Linked DNA regions of Homo sapiens: regions 2 and 3 are each linked to region 1. Evidence: promoter capture Hi-C in 16 types of primary human blood cells and fetal thymus (Javierre and others, 2016). All regions are on one chromosome and are shown on one strand. Each heading gives the region's core, a stretch centred on a gene start or on the middle of the fragment in contact. The rest is flanking DNA. Distances are from core to core; before and after follow the strand shown. Region 1 holds the start of LAMB4 (laminin subunit beta 4). Region 2 overlaps PNPLA8 (patatin like domain 8, phospholipase A2). Region 3 overlaps PNPLA8 (patatin like domain 8, phospholipase A2).

The links. Contacts are between HindIII fragments. The CHiCAGO score rates a contact against its expected background, and 5 or more counts as called.
Region 2: a contact is called between a fragment that was not itself captured here and the fragment with the promoter of LAMB4 in region 1, in 6 of 17 cell types (endothelial precursors, M2 macrophages, total B cells and 3 more). The highest score is 9.1, in endothelial precursors.
Region 3: a contact is called between a fragment that was not itself captured here and the fragment with the promoter of LAMB4 in region 1, in 3 of 17 cell types (endothelial precursors, naive B cells and fetal thymus). The highest score is 7.6, in endothelial precursors.

Annotation. Positions count from the first base shown.
Region 1 is chr7:108,128,418-108,132,182 of GRCh38, forward strand. It overlaps LAMB4 (laminin subunit beta 4), which reads right to left and starts at 1,944. Exons shown (of 34, transcript NM_007356.3): 1 at 1,889-1,944. The HindIII fragment of the contact is 5,422 bases long and covers 1-2,821 here.
Region 2 is chr7:108,489,829-108,493,593 of GRCh38, forward strand. PNPLA8 (patatin like domain 8, phospholipase A2) reads right to left here. Exons shown (of 11, transcript NM_001256007.3): 8 at 1,582-1,639. Among named protein-coding and RNA genes, the nearest start is that of PNPLA8, 34 kb to the right of the region's middle. The HindIII fragment of the contact is 536 bases long and covers 1,575-2,110 here.
Region 3 is chr7:108,471,402-108,475,166 of GRCh38, forward strand. PNPLA8 (patatin like domain 8, phospholipase A2) reads right to left here. Exons shown (of 11, transcript NM_001256007.3): 11 at 1-1,274. The coding sequence ends at 1,000. Among named protein-coding and RNA genes, the nearest start is that of NRCAM, 17 kb to the left of the region's middle. The HindIII fragment of the contact is 2,794 bases long and covers 775-3,568 here.

The sequences.
Region 1 (3,765 bases), core at 694-3,193:
CTACAACATAGAATTAAGCATCCTAAAATATCAACAGCGCTGAGCTTGAGAAACTTTCTCAGTGGCTTCAGTGCCCTTAGCTATGGGCCTTATCATCTCAGCCCTTATTTCCCAAAATCACTCACCTCTAGTCTTCCTCCCCATTTTCTATTTCCCATTTTAGGAGAGCTAAGCTCCAAACTAGATAAGTATTATAATGAATCTGGCAACTTCTAGAAGTTCTGTTATCTGAAATCACCTATCCAGTCATTATAAAACCCACAGCTGCACATACAGCGCAATATCAGAAAATGTGGTAACCCTGTGCATGCCTTCCTTCGTCAAACTATAAGTTTAATTGGTACTGCTTTTCGGGTTGGTTTACCAGAGCTGACATTGGAAAGCCTCTCAGGGGCTACATGGCACTCTTTTCTTGTTAAATTCATCAGTGAGTTTTAGTAATATATGTAAAAGTGATTAGGAGTAATAAACAAAACATTTTCCCTCCTTTGGATGAGATATGTATAAACGTATTTCCAAAGGCGCTGGGTGCATTTTGGTAGCCGTTTAATGAATGCTGCTAGATGACACTGGTCTTAAAATGTATTAAGTGTTGCAATAAACAGTGAAATATATTAGACTGAAAGTAACTTTCTGGCATTGCTAATTTATTTAATTTACTGACCATTCACTTATATTTGCCTCATCTGCTCTCACTTGAAGGCTGCAAAGAGTTTACTCTTTTTTGTCAAAACAATTTGGATGAAACAGATGAAGAGAAAAGGGCCATGTGGTGCCCATTTGCCCAGCTCCTAGAACCACAGGTGCATCGTGTTTGATAAGAGCCTCTCCGCAGGAAAGACATGCATTCCGCTCCTGTTTCTACTACAGCACCTTTCTTCTGCAAATTGGACAGTAATTTATAACACAGAAGATAATTATAAATACATTTATATTAGCCCTTAAGACTTTTTCTGGTACACAAATAATTGTCTATAAAGTGACAGTTCTCAGAAATCTTGTATTTAACTTTCCTTTGTCTAACTTTTTTTCATGTTATGTCAGGACTCATTAGATATTTCAACTGTTTTGCCTAAATTTCATCATAGTGAGGAATGCAGAATACAGAACTATAAAGTTTACTTTTTTTTTTTTTTTGGAGACAGAGTCTTCCTCTGTCACCCAGGCTGTAGTACAGTGGCACATTCTTGGTTCACTGCAACCTCAACCTCCCATGCTTAAGCAGTCCTTCCATCTCAACCTCCTGAGTAGCTGGGATTACAGGCATGTGCCACTACGGCTGTATAGTTTTTACAGAGATGGGGTTTCGCCATGTTGCTCAGGCTGGTCTTGACCTCCTGAGCTCAAGCAATTTGCCTGCCTCGGCCTCCCAGAGGGCTGGGATTACAGGCATGAGCCACCATGCCCGGCCAAGTTTATGTTTCTTTTAGTTATAGCAGACTTGCTTTTCTTAAAACAATATTTACACATATCTAGAACATTAACAAAATATTTTGAAAATATGGGTAGTTCTAATGCATTTAAACTTTTATAAGTTGTCATAAGTTTTATAACCATAACAAAAACAAACATTTGCTGAAAACACAATACAGTTGTACATTTCAACACTACATCATTTGAAGCTCCCTTCAAGGTACAGTAAGGCTCAAGTTGTTGGCTTCATATCACAATGCACTAACATCAATTTTCCCATTGGATACTGTTTTATGTTGCAAGAACCTTTATTTAAGTGTCATTGGACTATCATTCTGTAAAAGTAATAGTAATCTATGTGCTAATATGTCCCATTTCTTACTTTATGACAACTCCACTTACCCCCTAAATTCTAATACCTTCATTTAATCCATAAAAATGCCAATTTGCTAGTGAGAGAGCAGGCAAGACTTACCAGGATCTGGGAGTCTTTGTGGAGAGGTTCAGGCAGCAAACGGGGCATGTGAAGACACACCTGAAAGTTAGAGCCAGTTTATGTAGAAAACATTCTCCCCGAGGCACCTAAAAGTAGGGAAAAAAAAAGACAAGAGGTATTCCAATGCCTGTCAAAAAGGTGATTTGTGAAGTCACTTAAGTTTTAACTTATACACACACACACACCCACACACACACATAAACAGGGAAATAGAGCTCAGTTTTACAGCAAATATTTTTCTTGTTTTCTCTAAAACCAATTTTAATAGCCAGGAATAATGCACAGACATTTTGTTCCCTGATTTATTTATGTTTTTCTGGTTCATGTTTTAGCGGTCATTTTCAGACAGCTTGATACTTACCAGCTATAAAATGTGCGGAATTAGATGGGCTTGTTTCTCAGGAATGTGAGACCCCTGACTCCATCCCAATCTACTTTCAGGCGGACCAGGTGGAATAGTTTCAGATGGGTTCCCAAGGCTCTGACCAGTCCTACCTGGCTCAAGATCATCTTAAATGGCTCATAGATTTCTGTTTACCTTGTGATTCGGCAAGTACAACTAACCATTGTGGGAATGGCAAGTTTAAGTGGTTTTGGAATCCATGTGGTTTGAAATTTCATTCTCCTACGAGGAAGGTTTATAGTATAGAAATGAACCTACAGCAATCTTACATTTTATTCACTTGTCAGTGGATTAATATCTCCATTTCAAATCTGTGCAGTTTCAATGGGTAAGTTTATTGGTTGCTTGAAAAAACATTTAGGATTTCTAGAAGCTCATGGAAAATACCCTTAGGGAAGAAAAATGATTGTGAACTGAGCCAAAATGAGATGCTCATTTTTACACAACATTTACAAATCAGGAAATAGATTCAACAAACTTTCACCAAATACCACTCTTACAGGCCTTTAAGCTTTTTCAAGGGTATTTTTCAATGCTTCTTACCTGTTATTTGTGTTTTAATTTATTGCTCTATTTTTCCATCGATGCCACTGTTTTTAATTTTGTTCCCTATAGGTCAGGTTCATCTGCTCACTTCTGATGTACTAGAAAGCAAACTCCAAGAGGGCAGGAACATGTCTTTTCCATTTTAGGATGAAGTATAGAAGAAGCTTGCAGTCAATATTTGCTAAACTAACTTGTTTTATTTATTTTTTACAAGCCAACAGCTGCCACAAAGTACCAGGTGGTAGGAGACCAAAGAGCAGTATTTGGTTTTTAGGTGGATACTTCAGCAAAGTGTGTGAGTGAAATCAAGGGACTTTCAGTTTGTTCAATTGACGGGTTTGTGATCTGTTTTATTAGACCAATACTATTTTCCCTTTAGACTCTTAAATTATTGTGCAAAGCATAAACTCTAGGCATTAAAATTTATATAATTTTTAAACTTATTTCAAACATTGGAATTTCATATTGTCTTTTTTGCCTTTTGAGATATGTAAATTTTAAAAGCTTGTTGCATTCTTGAGTGATTTGATTATATCTTGAGGGGTTTTCCTGTTATATGTGTCTCCAGTTTTATGACGAGAATCAAAGTTACATGGTTCAAATTTCAAAAATTTCCCTTTAAATAATCATGAATAGGTTATCGTAGGCTGTTTTCCTGTAAACTGATGGCATGTCTTGGGGTATCTGCTTTCATCTCAATGAGTTAACTATTTACCTCTTAAGATTAGGTGTAGAGTTAGAAGCTGTCAGGCAGGATATATTTTCAAGAAAAATAATTTTCCCATGCAACTAAAAGATCAGTCTATCAGTTAATCAGAAGCAGTCTTTCAGTATAGCTCTCCTTAAAGTGTTGATATCTTTTTTATTAAAAGGAAAATAGCTTTATTGCTTTTCCTGGAGAGTAGTA
Region 2 (3,765 bases), core at 593-3,092, 360 kb after region 1:
TAAACAAGTAATATTAAACAGAACTCAAGCAACACTCAGATCATTGGGTTTCAAACACACAAATAAATGAAGAGCCACATTGAGACACATCTAAGTGACATTACAATTTTAATGGGGATTCAATTTTTATAATAATATAATCTAATATAGTCATGCATTGCATATCAATGTTTTGGTCAATGATGGACCGCATATACAACAGTGGTCCCATAAGACTATAAACGGGCTTCTATGCTGTATTTTTCACTGTATCTTTCTATAGATATTTTTTATCTAGATATTTGTATATCTGTAGATACGTAAGTATTCTTATCATTGTGTCACAATTGCCTACAGTATTCAGTATAGTCACCTGCTGTACAGGTTTATAGCCTAGGAACTATAGGCTATACCATTTAGCCTACATGTGTAGTAGGCTATACCATCTAAGTATGTCTAAGTACACTCTATAACACAGGTTTATAGCCTAGGAACTATAGGCTATACCATTTAGCCTACATGTGTAGTAGGCTATACCATCTAAGTATGTCTAAGTACACTCTATAATACTTGCACAATGACAAAATAATCTAATGACACACTTCTCAGAATGTATCCCTATCATTAAGTGATGCATGATTGTATTGTATCTAAGAGGCATATAAAATTTCTCTTTAAAAATCTAGGGTAAGAAGGCTGGGCGCGGTGGCTCACGCCCGTAATCCCAGCACTTTGGGAGGCTGAGGTGGGCGAATCACGAGGTCAGGAGATCGAGACTATCCTGGCTAACATGGTGAAACCCTGTCTCTACTAAAAAATACAAAAAATTAGCCGGGCGTGGTGGCGGCTGCCTATAGTCCCAGCTACTTGGGAGGCTGAGGCAGGAGAATGGCGTGAGCCCGGGAGGCGGAGCTTGCAGTGAGCCGAGATTGTGCCACTGCACTCCAGCCTGGGCGACAGAGCAAGACTCCGTCTCAAAAAAAAAAAAAAACTAGGGTAAAAAATGTCATAATGTTCCTTAAATCACTAGATTTGATTTTTAAAATTATGATGAAATAATTCTTATTTTCAGTCCATCTTTCATGTTCTTCCATTTCTGGTATAGTTTTACCGAATTTATAAAAGGTATAAGGATGATATCCCATCTCTTCATAGAATGACTCAATATATAAAGAATTAATACAATCTGTAATACCTTAATAAAAGGGCCCTCAGGGCCGGGCACGATGGCTCATGCCTGTAATCCCAGCACTTTGGGAGGCCAAGGCGGGCAGATCACCTGAGTTTGGGAGTTTGAGACCAGCCTGACCAACATGAAGAAACCCTGTCTCTACTAAAAATACAAAAAAATTAGCCAGGCGTGGTGGTGCATGCCTGTAATCCCAGCTACTTGGGAGGCTGAGGCAGGAGAATCACTTGAACCTGGGAGACGGAGGTTATGGTGAGCCGAGATCGTGCTATTGCACTCCAGCCTGGGCAATAAGAGTGAAACTCTGTCTCAAAAAATAAAAATAAAATAAAATAAAATGGCCCTCAGGACAAGTGCTTTCACCAGACCTTCAGATGGAACTAGGTGTTATATTTAAGAGACTCTAAGCTTACCTTAGGACATGTGGGGTTTCTTGCTGTTTCAATCATCAGTGCAGATCCCATCCTATCCCTTTATTAAAGGAGAAAAAAATAAGTTATATCAAAATGACTTTATCTCCTAACAACCAGGAAACATACAGTATGCAATTACTATTTGTCCATGGCTTTGTCAAAGTGCTATGAAGGAAAACATGTAAGACTCTCCTCTAGGAGGCTTATAATTCCATTAATGCACATGAAACAATATGCAGTTATTTATCAACCTCTGATTCAAACTGCAAGTATCTACAGTTCTGAGGTGGAGCAACGAACAGAGGGGCAGTAACTGGAAAAGATGCAGGAAGGTTGCTGGAGGAAGACATTGAAAGACTGCAAGGCAACATATTTAAAGCTAGGACATATACAGATTAAAGGCACAAAGGCAAAATAAATCTGTTGTTTTCAGGGTCCTGCCAATAGGATAAAGGAGCTGTGTTGAGATAAGACTGCAGAAGTATGCACGGGCTAGTTAGAGTAACCAGGTGAGGACAATGAGACTTTAAGCTTGTTTTAGTTGGTAACAGCCAATGTCATCAAGAAAATGGCTTTGAAAATCATCAGAGTTGGCATTTGAATTACTATGACATTACAGAAATTGTCCTTGGGCAGCAATTTTTGCAATTCCATAATAAGAGAATTTTATTTCAATGCAGACTTTTCCAGACTTAAAAATTATGTATTTTCCCTATATTGAATACAAAGACTATGGTTTCACCAGCCTTCCTCATGAGTAAAACCATTTTCTAATGTGTTTTTCAAACAATACTCATGTTTCCCAACTAGAATATTAGTGAACTTCATAAAAAGAATATTTACAAACTGCTCAGTGATCTACCCTTTATAAGCTTTAATAAATATCAATGTAAAATACTTTCCAAAATGGACAAGATCTTTTGTCTTTCCCAACCTGATCTATACATTTCTACTACATAAAGATCAATGCATTTTATCTTTTTAAGGTTCTTTGTCTTTTCACAGAATTCTTACTGTAAAATTACAAGAGAAATCCTAGGAGCATGCTGATTTCACACTTTTTGGCAAAGTTCATATTTATTTATTTTTATATTTGTTTAAATCTTGGTTTTCTCAAAACCTAAAATGCTTTTAGTGAATTCACTTATGAATATAAACTTGTAAAAAAAGCAATGGTAATTGTTTATTTCCGAGATGTCAAAATATGAAAAAAAAATCAACATGCCTAGATTCTACTGATGGCATAAAATAGTTCCCTTAAAATAACACAAAATTATCACAGCAAAATAAATAAATAAATAAAAGTCCTCTCAATAAACAATGGGCGAAAAAATGCTACGACAAAAAAGGCCAGAAGGTAGATATAGAAGAATATTAACAATACTGGCACCCAGTGAATCACAGTCCTGGTATCCATGTCATTGTATACAGTCTCTTCCTATACAGACTCTTGGTTGGCATGGCTTTCGTCCATGTGACCTCAACAAACATGCCATTAAACTGAGGCTTGATAAGTGCTTATGCACTGGGGCTTGCTCTCTGGGAACTCTGAAACCACAATGATGAGACGAAGCTTGGGTGAGAATGACCAGGTGGAGAGAGAGGCTTCCCAGGCCCATTGGTAGAGCCACCAAGTGAGCTCCGGCAAGAACAGAAGAAACACCCAGTCAAACCACAGAGTCATGAGACTAAATCATCATTGTTTTAAGCCACTAAGTTTTGGAGTGGCTTGTTCTGCAGCAAAGGCTGAGTTTGAAAAAGCAGAGAAAGAAAAAACAACTAACGACACTGATAAAATTTATCAATGCCATGATTAAAAATAAAGAAGTTGCCAGAAGAGCAAAAATGAGACAGCAATACATAAATATGCAAAGATACTCTCATAAGTAACAAAAGGAAAAATTTCATAGTAGAGAAGCTGGTTTTAGAATAAATTTTTAAATTTTCATTAAATAATAAAAAGTATTGATTGTATGAATACTGGGAATAGATATGAATTTTATATATATATATTTTTTGAGACGGAGTCTCGCTCTGTCGCCCAGACTGGAGTGCAGTGGTCTCAGCTCACTGCAAGCTCCACCTCCCAGGTTCACACCATTCTCCTGCCTCAGCCTCCCCAGTAGCTGGGACTACAGGCGCCCGCCCCCATGCCTGGCTTTTTTTTTTTTTTTTTTTTTTTTT
Region 3 (3,765 bases), core at 922-3,421, 340 kb after region 1:
ACGAGGTTTCACCGTGTTGGCCAGGCTGGTCTTGGACTCCTGACGTCAGGTGATCTGCCTGCCTCGGCCTCCCAAAGTGCTGGGATTACAGGTGTGAGCTACTGCGCCAGGCAACTAACTTCTTATTTTTAAGCATACTGCTGCCAGGTGTATTCAAAGGCTAAAGGGGAGCTACATTATGAACAAAAATTAATTTTAAAATGACATTAGCCTTTTAACAACAGATTATTTAAATAGTTTATTTTTGTTAATGATAGGAATATCTCCTCAGTAAGTTCAAACCATTTTATAACAGGGAAGAATAAGCTAGTGTTAGATCTGGAAAAGTTAATATAGCATTATCTTGAAATTTCAGGGGTAAAAAGTGGTTGACTGGAACTTCACCTTTTTTAACCAAACAATGTTAAAATAAACATATCTGAATAGAAAACTGTATCTGGTTCTTTTTTATGTCAAATGTAAAATACTTTAATAGAGAAAATTCCATTTTTCTGCATCTATTTAGATGATATTACAATAAAAGGCAGTGTGGATTGGAGAACATAGCTAGTGAGAATATTAGGTAATGTAAATTTAAGAAGAAATTAGCTTTTCCATATGAAATAAAATCAATGATCACATAAATTCAACATGATTATGAGGACTAAAGTAAAAATACACAGTACAATATAGCTTTCGGTTTCTTGTTCGGCACATATATTAATATATTTTCAAACATCAAACAATATAACACCAATATCTACTAAAATCTACTAGCACAGTAAGGGTTACTAAAGCTTAGCTAATTATTAACATCTTAAAAGCCTAGTTCCCATATGAATTCTGTAACCAAGAATATTCTCTGTGCTATGCAAGCTGGTTGAAGCACCGTCTTTTTCAGGATTCTCCAGAATTCATACGTATTTCAAAGTTAACTCATGTCGAACCCCACAATTCCTTATTGAATGTGGTTGATCTTCTAAACAGACCTTCATTTATGAGAACATAAGCATATACTCATCACAATTTTGAAAAGAATGGAAGTCCTTCATACATATCAGTTTTTAATTTTATCCAATCATTAATTTTCTGCAGAGTTGTTTTTTCTTGACTTAATATTTTTGCAACTTTTTTCATTTTTTGTTCATTTCTTTCTATGTATTTCAACCCTTCCAACTGCAGCTGATCCAGCTTTTCATTTCGACTTTCATCTAGAGGTATGTTTTCACACATTACAGGATTGAATCTAAAATAGGTGTCAGGAGGTAACAGGCCATCAAGCATTATATGGACTTCTGTTAAAGCAAAAAAGAAAAGGATAAGGGGATAAGAAAAGAGGGGATAAAGTGAGCAATGAACTGTTAATTTGTCTTTATTTAAAATTAACTTCTTTTTAGGCACATTACAAAGATTCACTAATTTCATTATTCAAACTGACAGTAGAAGTAATCCATAATAATGGGTAAAACTATAAGATAAAATTCATCTTCCAAAATACATTATTCTGTGAAATTAGTATACTTCTTCTATTCTCTCTGTGCTTTTGGTCATACTGTTCACCACTGCTGAAATGCCCTTTCCAACTTTCCTTTTTTTTGGGATCAACTTCATTGACATATCATTTACATCCAGTGCAACTCACCAATTTTAACTGTATAGTTTGACAAGTTTTGACAAATGTATACACTTGTGTAAGCACAACAATAATCATGACATAGCCATTTCCATCACTGTAAAAAGTTCCTTTAAGCCTCTTTATAGTTGGTGCCCACTTTCCCTTTCCTAGAATTTCATACAAACAGAATCAAAAGTATCTACCTTCTTTTATGGACAAAATACTTTTGAGATTCATCCATGTTGTAGCATATATCAATAGTTCCTTTCTTTTCATTGCTAAATGGTGTTCCATTGTATAGATACAACACAATTTGTTCTCTGCAGTTCTGGTCTGGCTCTCTTCAGTTTTTAGCTACTAGAAATAACCCGATTATAAACATTTACACATAAGTCTTCATGTGCATATGATTGCATTTCCCTTGGGCAAAAACCTAGGAATAAAATTGCTGGTTCATATGGTAAAGGGTATGCTTATTTTAAAAAAAACCTGCCACACTGTCTTCCATTTTTGTATTCCAACCACTAATATATTAGAGTTCTCACTGCTCTACATCTTTGCCCAAAGTTAGTATGTCAAGTCTTAAGTTTTGCATTATAGAGGTAGTGGTATCTTGTGGTTTAATTTTTATTTCCCTAATGACTAATTATGTTGAGAAGGTTTTCATGTACTTATTAGTCATTTGTATATCTTCTTTAATGAAGTGTCTGTTTAAATCTTTTGCCCAGTTTTTTCACTGAATTGCTGTGTCCTATATATATGACAGTGGTGCAATCATGGCTCACCGCAACCTCGAACTCCTGGGCTCAAGTGATCCTCCTGCCTCAGCCTCCCAAGTAGCTGGGACTACAGGTGTGTGCCACCATGCCCAGATAGTTTTTTATTTTTCTGTAGAGATGGGATCTCACTATATTGACCAGGCTGGTCTCAAACTTCTGGGCTCAACCGATCCACCCAAAGTGCTGGGATTACAGGTGTGAACCACCATACCCAGCCTATTATTTTATATATATATACATACATATGTTATATGAGAATTCTCTATATATTTTGAACTTGATTATATATTATACCTCATGATGGGTCAGATGCATGTTTTATCAATATTTTAGTGTATGACTTGCCTTTTCATTTTATAAAAAGTACCTTTTAAAGAGCAGAATTTGTAATTTGAAGTCTAATTTATCTCTTTCTTTCCTTTCTGATTCATATTTTCTATGTCCTATCTAAAAAAATCTTTACCCAAGGTCATTAAGATTTTCTCCAGCATATTCTTCTATATGTTTTATAGTTTCAGCTCTTAGATTCAGGTTTCCATCTAAGATCAGGAACAGGGTAAGATGTCTAGTCTCACACCTTCCAGTAAGCATTGTACTGGAGGGTCCTTTTCAGTGCCGTAAAGCATTAAAAGGAAATGAAGGGCATGTAGATTAAAAAGGAAGTAAAACTCTATAGACAACCTGGTTGCCTATGTTGACAATTTTGAGAAAGCTATAGAAAGCTACTAGAATAAGTGAGTTTAGCAAGTTTGAAGTTATATAAGGTCAATAAGAAAAATCAGTTGTATTTCTGCATATTAGCCATGAACGACTGTGATGCATTCCAAGTTACTTTTGTGTATGGTGCAAAGGGTCAAGGTCAACGCTGTGGATACAGGTATCTAATAGTCCCGGACCATTTGTTGAAAAGACTGTCCTTTCCCACTGAGTTACCTTAGCATCTTTGTAAAAAGTCTTTTGAGTTTACATGTATAAATCAATTTCTGGACTCTCTATTACATACCATTGATTTATATGTCTATCTTTATTCAAACACCACAGTTCCTTGCTTAATGTAGTTTTATAGTCTTTAAATCAGCAGATGTAAGTCCTCCAACTTTTTTTTCTTTTTCAAAATTGTGTCAGATATTCTAGGTCAGGGGTCCCCAACCCATGGGCTGCACAGCAGGGGGTGAGTGGCAGGGCCAGTAAGCAAAGCTTCATCTGTATATACAGCCACTCTCCATCGCTTGCATTACTGCCTCAGCTCCACCTCCTGTCAGATCAGTGGTGGCATGAGATTCTCATAAGACTGCAAACCCTATTGTGAACTGAGCATGCAAGGGATCTAGGTTGCGTGCTCCTTAGGTGAATCTAATGCCTGATGATCTGTCACTGTCTCCCATCATCCCT